2 separate regions of the Homo sapiens genome follow, and region 1 is linked to region 2. Evidence: promoter capture Hi-C in human tissues and cell types (Jung and others, 2019). All regions are on one chromosome and are shown on one strand. The core of a region is centred on a gene start or on the middle of the fragment in contact, and the rest is flanking DNA. Distances in the headings are between cores, read along the strand shown.

What was found. Contacts are between HindIII fragments. The study calls those that stand out against the background at their distance.
Region 1: a contact is called between a fragment that was not itself captured here and the fragment with the promoter of TMEM33 in region 2, in 1 of the 25 tissues and cell types used here (H1 embryonic stem cells).

What each region holds. Positions count from the first base shown.
Region 1 is chr4:41,701,321-41,706,327 of GRCh38, forward strand. No RefSeq gene overlaps it. Among named protein-coding and RNA genes, the nearest start is that of LIMCH1-AS1, 11 kb to the left of the region's middle. The HindIII fragment of the contact is 3,651 bases long and covers 930-4,580 here.
Region 2 is chr4:41,933,609-41,938,789 of GRCh38, forward strand. It overlaps TMEM33 (transmembrane protein 33), which reads left to right and starts at 1,821. Exons shown (of 7, transcript NM_018126.3): 1 at 1,821-1,921; 2 at 4,994-5,088. The coding sequence starts at 1,877. It overlaps LOC105374426 (a long non-coding RNA gene), which reads right to left and starts at 1,067. Exons shown (of 3, transcript NR_188374.1): 1 at 998-1,067. RefSeq lists enhancers at 1,661-1,840, 2,081-2,130, 2,141-2,210. The HindIII fragment of the contact is 16,795 bases long and covers 1-5,181 here.

The DNA of each region.
Region 1 (5,007 bases), core at 1,505-4,004, 230 kb before region 2:
TTTGCAAAGTTTGGTGGACGGTTAGTAGTTGCTGCTGTTTGCATGGAAAAGTGGATTCTTCTCATAAGAGAGTTTTAGTAGCTATCAGGTGAACTTAATATTTTCATTGTTATTTAAATGAAAGCCCATTGAACTAGGATGCATTTCAAAACAAAGACTATTACTCTAATATGAGGTCTATGAAAAATATCTTTATTCAAAAACAAACATTTTGCCTCAAGGTTGTTGAACTAGCTTTCTTTCCGTGGACTTTCTTCAAGATCTAAGGACTCCTTTTAGAGTCCAAATCAAGGCTCCTTTCCCCATTCTTTGGCATTATGTAAGGTAGTGGTTACAACTCAAATGACTAGAGGGGTTACAAACCAAATGACCAGTTAGGCATTGTAAATGAGAACCAGAAGAGGACAATAGAGAGCAGTGTGGAGTATGGCAAACTGGAAAAAAAAGAACAGTTCTGTCTAAAGAAAGAGGCAGCTACTTGGCTTCATCAGTTGTTTTATGTGAAATCTCCAGTTTTTAAATATTGACAGTTTAAAACATTTTCCAACACAGTGCTATCCAAAATTGCGGGGTTCAGCAAAATATATATGCAAGTCCAATTTTGTTCTGAGGCCACTAATTTCCAACCTATAGCTCAGTCTCCTCTTTGCTTTTCTATCAACTGCTACTAATTTGCTCTGCTGTGGATCATTTTATTTGAAAAATATATCAAGAAATGGCCATGCAAAATATTTGCTTTTCAGAGTGTCTTGGGTCACACAGAGAAAGAAGCCAATAGAGCCATTAATCATCAGGTGATATTGTTATGATTCATAACACTTTCAGATAGTAGTATTTGTGCATTGTCATCAAACATTACTATTTCACAAATGCCCGTGTTCAGTGTTTTGCCCAACTGTGCCCTTCCCCTTAATGGTTACGTTCATGCTTCTGAGTGACTCAAAAGGACAGAAAAGTGTGCAAATAGACAGACTAGAATTTTTCCTAAATTTGTTTGGCATCATTTTACCAAATGCGCTTTTGCAAGTATTGTTTTACTTATCAAATAGTATTTCTGGCATGTGAGAACATAGATGTATGCCTTCTCATTTTACAGGTGAGAAACTGAAGTATGAGAGGGATAAGTGGCTTATTCTGGATGAGTATAAGATTTTACATAATTGTGTATTTCACCCTCTGTCCCCAGTCAGGGTGGATCAGGATAATTTCCTATCCAACTGTTCCTGGTGCCTGTGTCTGGGATCTTATTCCAGACCAACTAGGAGGACCTTTGACCATAGCTAGACCTTGGTAGGATTTCATCTGCACCCAAACAGAGACTAGAACACTCTTTTTATAGTAAATTTACGCATATAAACAAATACTCAATGGACTGTTTGTCTTAGTCCCTTTTGTGTTGCTATAAGAATGCCTGAGACTGGGTAATTTATAAATAAAGTATTGGCTAATGATTCTGCTGTCTGTAAAAGTTCAAGATTGGGCATCTGCATCTGATGAGGGCTGCAGGTGGCTTCCACTCATAGCAGAAGGTGAAGGGGAGCTGGCACATGCAGAGATCACATGGTGAGAGAGGAAGCAAGAAGAGCGGGTGGGAGTGGGGATGCCAGGCTGGCTCTAACAACCAGCTCTTATTGAAACTGATAGAGCGAGAACTCACTCACCCTTGAGTAGGAGCTTTAATCTATTCATGAGGGATCCACCCCCATGACCTAAACACCTCCCGTTAGGCCCCACCTCCAACACTGAGGAACAAATTTTAACATAAGGTTTGGAGGGGACAAATATCCGAACCACAGCAGTATTTTTGTTTTTTTCCTCTTGTGATTTGATTTTTTTACTCTGGAAAGAAAAGTGGAGCTTTCCTTTGTGGCAAGGCTTTGGGCACCTTGGTGGTTGCTGCAGTAGAGGCTGAGGAGTCTGTCTGTGCCAACCACACCCCTGACCAGAGCCCACTGACCTCTCCCTAACACATACCATCTCCAAAACCTCCTGTTCCCTCCCAAAGTCTAATTTCCAGAGTCAAGGAAAAACTAGTGCTGCCTAATAGATAACACATTGTCCCACTCAACTTTTGCTTCATAGCCAAACCTCAAACTCAAACTCAGCCCAGACCTGAACAAAGGGAGGGTCTCTTTCTAACCATCCCGATGGAGAAAGGATTCTGATGGCACCCCACATTGGTTCCCATATCACAATATTATTTCACTCAAATAGATCCATTGATCCATGAATGAAAGTGTTTTCAGTTTTTAGCAGGAATAATGGCATTGTCTGTGATAGCTTGTGTTCTTTATTATTCACCAGGTAGATAGAGAATTATTTCAGCAGGTCCTGTGGTCTTAGAAAACACCTTGGCTGGCTGAGGATGACTCTACAGAGCTATAGGGAGCATCTGTCCAACATTTTCTCAAGCACTACACTCATGCTCCTTTGCTATGGAATTAATGACTAACCCAACGTCTGACCCTGGAGTATTGAACACTTCCTCCTGAATCCGTGAAAATCTGTGATTGTCTAATACCTTGAAAATCGAGAAACTTCATCTTGTTGATATGATAACATTCTGGGAAACATGGAATCATTGATTAGACTTGGAGAATGCCTTTCTGAGATGTGTTTTTAAAAAAAAAAAGGAATAATCAAAGGAATTTGCCTTGCCCAACAGTAAAATTTACTGGAATTTGCCTTGCCCAACAGTAAAATTTACTGTAAAGATAATAAAGTACCTATCTCGGGCAAGAATTGATAAACTAATTGATAAACTGATTGTAACTGTCACAGCAATGAATATGATATACAAATCCAAATAAACATAAAAACTTTAGTGTATAATAATAGTGTTTCAATGACCAGAGGAGGGATAGTTGATTAACATCATTTGTTTACAATAAAATTAATTCAGGTAGAGTAACGTGTTAAGTGCAGGAAAAGAAAAGATAGGCTTAAATATGTTTAAATACATACTCAATAAAGAGAATTGAAGGCAAATTTTAAAAATAATAAAAAGCTGGGGAAAATATTTCCAACAAATATAACAAAGAGCTAATAGCCATAAACTATGAAAGCTTTTTACTAATCAATAGGAAATGTACATAGACTCACAGAGAAATATAATGGCCAATAAATACCAAAAAATTTTCAACCATACTAGAGATATAGAAATGCAAATTAAAACAACAGTAAGATTGATGGCTGGCCCTGGTGGCTCACACCTATAATCCCAGCACTTTGGGAGGCATGAAGCAGGAGTATCACTTGAGCCCAGGAGTTCGAGACCAGCCTGGACAATAAAGGAAACCCCTGTCTCTACAAAACAAACAAACAAAAACAGTAAGACAAGACTCCTCCTATCTCCCCAAAAACAGAAAATTATTTAACTTTGTTAAGAATTAAGAACTTCTATATGGTGAAAAGAAAGTTTTTAAAAAGCTACAACCCAAGAGATTGGTTGCACATAAATCAATTAGTATCCAAAATATATAAGTAACTCCAGAACATCAATAAGAAAAATACAAACAGATCAACAGAAAACAACAAAAGACATGATGGGCATTTCATAGAAAACATGAATAGCAAAACACACAAATATATTCCATATTTTTAGGGAGGAAATATAAGTTTAAGCCGTTATGAGATACCATTTTATACAAGCCAAGCTGATAGAAATTTAAAGTTTTGATAAGACCAAGTGTTAGTGAGGATGTGGAACAATAGGAACTCATACACTACTGATAAGAACGTATATTGGTAAAACAGTGAGACAGTATATCATGCCAGTCAGAATGGCGATTATTAAAAAGTCAAAAACAAATGATGCCGAGGTTGCAGAGAAAAAGGAATGTTTTACACTATTGGTGGGAGTGTAAACTAGTTCAATCATTGTGGAAGACAGTGTGGCAATTCCTCAAAGATCTAGATGCAGAAATACCATTTGACCCAGCAATCCCATTACTGGGTATATACCCAAAGGGATATTAATTATTCTGTTATAAAGATACAAGCACACATATGTTCACTGCAGCACTTTTTACAATAGCAAAGACATGGAATCAACCCAAATGCCCATCAGTGATAGACTGGATAAAGAAAATGTGGTACATACACACCATGGAATACTATGCAGCCATAAAAAGGAATGAGATCATGTCCTTTGCAGGGACATGGATGGAGCTGGAAGCTGCTATCCTCAGCAAACTAACGCAGGAACAGAAAACCAAACACCGCATGTTCTCACTTATAAGTGGAAGCTGAACAATGAGAACACATAGACACAGGGAGGAGAATACCACATACTGGGGCCTGTGGGGAGAGGGAGAGTAGGAAGAATAGCTTGCAGATGCTGGGCTTAATACCTAGGTGAAAGGACGATCTGTGCAGCAAACCACCATGGCACACATTTACCTGTGTAACAAACCTGCACATCCTGCACATGTTCCCCTGACTTAAAAGTAGAAGGAAAAAAAGAAAAAAAAAGAATGTGTATTGGTAGACAATTCTGTATTATCTAGTGAAGCTGATGAAGCTCATACCCCTTGACATAGCAATTTCACTTCTAGAACATAAATACCTTAACCTAAACGCTAGAGAAGCTCAAGAAAACTCTCACCCACGTGCCCTGGGAGACGTGTTCAAGAAAGTCCTTCACAGCACCGTTTGGATATTATGGTATTCTATTTTAGTAGTGAAAAATGAGTGAACTGCAGAGTATACACATATATTTAGGTGAATCTCAGAAAATATAAGGTTAAAATAGCAAGGCACCCATAATTACATACAGTACAACATCATTGCTATGAAGCTCAAAGACAATAGAAAACTAAGCATTATAGTCTCTGGGATTACCTGATATAACAATAAAAGAGCAAATCAAAACAAAAGATTAACACAAACAAAATCCAGGATTTGGTGCAGGAGGAAGGGGATCCCTATCAAGGAGGATAGACAGGGGCTATCAACTTCATTGCCTTTTTATGTTTTCACATTTATTCGTAAGTTTTGTTTTGTTAT
Region 2 (5,181 bases), core at 571-3,070:
GCATGTCTGATCTCCTGTCCCATCATGGCTGGGGTCCCCTTGGCCAAGAAAGGGATCTATCCAGTCAGTCGACAGACCCCTTACTTAGGATTTTATTTTTAGTTTATATATATATAAATGGCTTCACAACGAATTTCCTGACTTTTAATTTGCCCCTCTGTTCATCCTCCACCCTGTTGCCAGAGAGAACTTTCTAAATCTCAGGATGTCACACTTCTGATTAAAATTGTTCCATGGTTCTCTGGATTTCAGGGTCAAGTTCAGATCCTTTCCTCAGTACACCCCTGCCTGCCTCTCTAGCGCAAATCTTTCACAATCCCCTGACTGGTACCATCATTCTGGTCACACTCAACTAGTCCTCTCGCTGTCCTGTTACTTCTTGCACTTTCTGTTACTCTGTATGGAGTTCCCTTCCCGTTTTAAGGCAGAAGAATATGGTATGGCGGTAGGGAACCTAATGCCCTTTCTCGCTGACTTCCTAGAACTAAATTGAAGGAAAATCCTTACTGTCCACGCTTAAGTGAATAAAGGGCCAGATACTACTCCCTTTGCAAGCCCCAACCTGTTCTGCGCAGATTTGGGAAATTGAAAGTACCTCTGATTGGTTGCTTTTTGTAACCAATCAGACGTTTGCATAGAAGTGTAACTTTGTAACTTCTTCAGCCTCTGATTGGTTGCTTTGCGCAACCATTCAGACTGATTGCGGGCCACCACTTCATTTACATGAAGTGAACTCCAAGTGGCCAATGGGAAACCTCTAGGGGGTATTTGGACCCGAGAAGACTCTGTATCCAGGGCCCTTGAGCTGCTGTCTCACTCTCCCACACTCTGGAGTGTACTTTCATTTTCAACAAATCTCTGCTTTTGTTGCTTTATTCTTTCCTTGCTTTGTGCGTTTTGTCCAATTCTATGTTCAAAACGCCAAGAACTTGGACACCCTACACCAGTAACACTTTCAGCCAACTTTTTGTCGTTCAAGATCAAGGCCCGGACTTACCTTTTCCAGGAAACCTCCCCAGATCCCTTCTGATTTAGGTACCGTCCTCTGTGCTCCCTGTGATTAAATCAGCCTCTACACATATTACACAATCACTATGCTCTGATTTCCGTTTACTTGTTTCTCTTTTGCAATCTGTGTCATATTCCTCTTTTTATCCGCCGTGCCAAGTATGGAGCCTGTCACATAGCAGGCCTCATAAATACTTATTGAAAGAATTAATAATAGACGTAGAACCAACGGGCTTAGTAAGCCCCTGGAGAAAGGAATCAAAGATGTTTCTGAGGCCTCTATATCAGGAAGTGCGGAAATTTCATGGTTTGAGAATGGGCAGGAAAGATCATTTGTGAGCTGTATTTAATGCAAAAGTTGCTCCCCCATCCTGATTTCTTAGCTCACTGGGCCAATCGGCGGAAGGACAGGTGGGGCTCAAATTAGGAGAAAAAAACCACACTTCCCGTCATGCCTCTGGGCACCGCTCCCGTTTCCCCCTCTTTGTCACCGCCTCTTCCCCACGGAAATGAAAGGAGCACTTCCGGGTTCGGCAATAACCTGGAGCCGGCGGCGTAGGTTGGCTCTTTAGGGCTTCACCCCGAAGCTCCACCTTCGCTCCCGTCTTTCTGGAAACACCGCTTTGATCTCGGCGGTGCGGGACAGGTACCTCCCGGCTGCTGCGGGTGCCCTGGATCCAGTCGGCTGCACCAGGCGAGCGAGACCCTTCCCTGGTGGAGGCTCAGAGTTCCGGCAGGGTGCATCCGGCCTGTGTGTGGCGCGAGGCAGGGAAGCCGGTACCCGGGTCCTGGCCCCAGCGCTGACGTTTTCTCTCCCCTTTCTTCTCTCTTCGCGGTTGCGGCGTCGCAGACGCTAGTGTGAGCCCCCATGGCAGATACGACCCCGAACGGCCCCCAAGGGGCGGGCGCTGTGGTAAGTGCGAGGGCAGGGTAGTCTGGCTTGATTTGCAAGAGTTAGGAAGAAGCAGGAAGCGTTGCGAGTCCCGAGGCGTTCCAGAAGCTCAGTGCATTCAGGAATGGGATTAATGAGTTGGGGTGGGGAAGTTGGAGCGGGGAGAGGGGAGGTCCTGAGCGAAGATATGGAGGGAACTACAAGTTTGTTTCTGAAGCGACAATAGGCTGACCTGGAGCTGGTGGCCCCCACCTGTATGCCATGGAAATTGGGCCTTCTTTCCTCTTCTCCCACCTCGGTCTTTTGTTTACCGTAGGCCCCAAGGTTAAAGATGCCGCATGAGATTGTGCCATGACACACATGATCCATGACACACACCACGTGGAGCACACGAGTGCCGGCAAAGAACGTTTCTGCCTAGTTTATACAATCGTATATAGAAATTATGCAAAGGGAGGAGAGCGGTGGTCTTTTTCTTCTTCACTTTGTTCTTTATGAAGAGAAATATCATTATGCTTTTGTAATTTTTTTAAGATGCTGATCTGGAGCTAACAAGTTATTTGTGCCCGGAGCATTGCTGTCCTCTACTTTTTAATCCATAAGTAGTTAAGTATTATTCTGTGTGACCACAATGCAGTTACCACATTTGGGAAATATTACCTAATATAAAATCCATGTGCAAATTTCCATAATTGTCCTTTAAAGCTGCTTTCTCTTCATCTGGGATTCTGTCAAAAAGCATGCATCGATGGGCTGGCGCAGTGGCTCACTCCTGTAAGCCCAGAACTTTGGGAGTCCAAGGCGGGAGGATCGCTTGAGTTCAGGAGTTAGAGACCAGCCTTGGAAACATAGCGAGACCTCATCTCTACTAGAAATCAAAGAAATTAGGCGGGGCGTGGTGGCTCACGCCTGTAATCTCAGCACTTTGGGAGGCCAAGGCGGGTGGATCGCTTGCGCCCGAGAAGTTGAAGCTGCCGTGAGCCAAGATCGCGCCACTGCACTCCAGCCTGGGTGATAGAGCAAAACCTTCTCTCAAAACAAACAAACAAACAAACAAACATAAATTAGCCGGTCGTGGAGGTGCGCTCCTATAGTCCCAGCATAGTCCCAGCTACTCAGGAGGCTGAGGTGGGTTGTGCTTTTGCGCTCCAGCCTGGGGTGACAGAGCGAGACCCTATCTCAGAAAGCATGCATTCAATTTACTGGCCATATCTTGTTTACTGCCTTTTAATCTAGAACAGTTCTGCCCTCTCCTCCCCTTTTTTGTCTTTTAAGATACTGATAGTTTTCAAGAGTCCAGACATGTTTTGCAGCATATATAGGTACATCTAATATGTATATCTATATTATATATCAGGAAGCATTTTACATTGATTTATCCCATCATTGCAGAATTTGTTTGATTATTTGATTAAGGTGGTGTCCACCAGTTTCTCCATTGTAAAGATACCTTTTTTCCTTTCTAATTAAAAAGTGTTCTTTGGCATGATACTGTGACACTGTGTGAATATTGCTCCTCAACAATTTTTCACCCAAAGATCTAGTGATTTTTTTTTTTTTTTGCCTGATGGTTGGACAGTTTACTCTTAAAAAATGTATACCAATAGACTTTCTTAAACTTTTAAAATTGTATAATATACATAAGTGTGTACAAAATGAAACGCATAGCTCAATGATTTATTGCAGAATAAACAACCTGAACAAATAGATTTTAAGGAGAATGTTCTAAAACTAACTTTCAAGCTGTGGTGCCCAGTCATAATATTTGTTGAGAAACTGAGCACAGTAAGCTGGATTCATCCTTCACTTGATTACTGCTAATCATTTCAGTTTATTGGAGTCACAGTACGGTAAGTCTGGATTTAATGATAAATCAAAGTTGTATTTCATATTTCTGAAATTACCTACATGTGGGTTAAAAAGACATAAAATAAAACAGCCTGGAATTTTACAATGTACTTGGATTTTTCCCTCAAATTTTTTATATTTTTTTTTCAAAAGATAATGAAATTAAATTACATAGAGCAGTGTTTTTAGACTTCAGGTAGACCCATTAGTGAGTTGAGAAGTCAGTTTAGTGTAAACACCAGCTATTTTTAAAAAATTAAATAGAAAATGTCAAAATCCATTATATACAGTAGGGTAAATATTTGTGAAACTTTTGTTTATATATCCATGTATATGGATCTCAATGTTAAAATTACGAAGATCCTAGACAAAAAATGTAAAAGCCACTTTTGAATATAAGATACATTTTAATGAGAAAACACATTTTAAGATTCTGCTTTAGTGGTAATAGACATAAGTATTGGGGGGAAAGCAGCAAAGGAAAGATAGAATGGGAAAAAAATGGGGGAAGAAAATGGTATAGGAAAGTTTAATCTAGGACCACCGAAACTAGGGTAAGACTTGTGGGGGAACATGGAGGTGATAAAGAGAGTGGTGTAATCAGAGAGGCAGGTGGCCATTTAATACCTGTCAGCCACATTTTGAGCACCTAGAGTATGCCAGGCCCTTGTGCATGTAGGCAGATTACAAGGCGAATGAGTTTAGTTGTTACTACTATCATGGTTTTATATTTCTTCTTCAAAAGGTTTCTTTAATCCCAACTGGCTTTATGTGATGTTTTACTCAGCTCTGAGACCTACCTATTCGGATTTGAGATTTTTTGCTAAGAATAGGCATATGGATCTCTTGAGAGCAATTAGTTTTTGTTTAATGTTCTTTTAAAATAGATGAAGCCAATATTGCAAGTGTTAAAGGAACACAGACAATTGTAGTTGAATTTCTGTTAAGATTATTTTTTCTAATTAATTAGTCTTTGCATTTTTTTAAAATGTCAGCTGATATTTTTCTATTTATTTCTGTTTAAGTACTTCTTGTGCTTTCCACATGAAAACTATAAGGTGTTTGGACTTCTCATTAAGCATATACATGAAACATGTAATTGCCTTAGAGTTTTCACCTAATGATCTAAAAAAACAAATGGAGGAAGATTAAAATATTTTGAGTAGACATAAAAACCACACAGTCTTGATGCTTAAAAACATGATTTGCAGGCATAGCTTACAGTATTTTTCTTTTTAAATTTAGCAATTCATGATGACCAATAAACTGGACACGGCAATGTGGCTTTCTCGCTTGTTCACAGTTTACTGCTCTGCTCTGTTTGTTCTGCCTCTTCTTGGGTATGTATTATACATATTGCTGCCTTTGATATTCAATTGTTGAGTCAGTTTATATGGAGTGCCTTTTAGGTGTAAGACTTATTAACCTGTAAA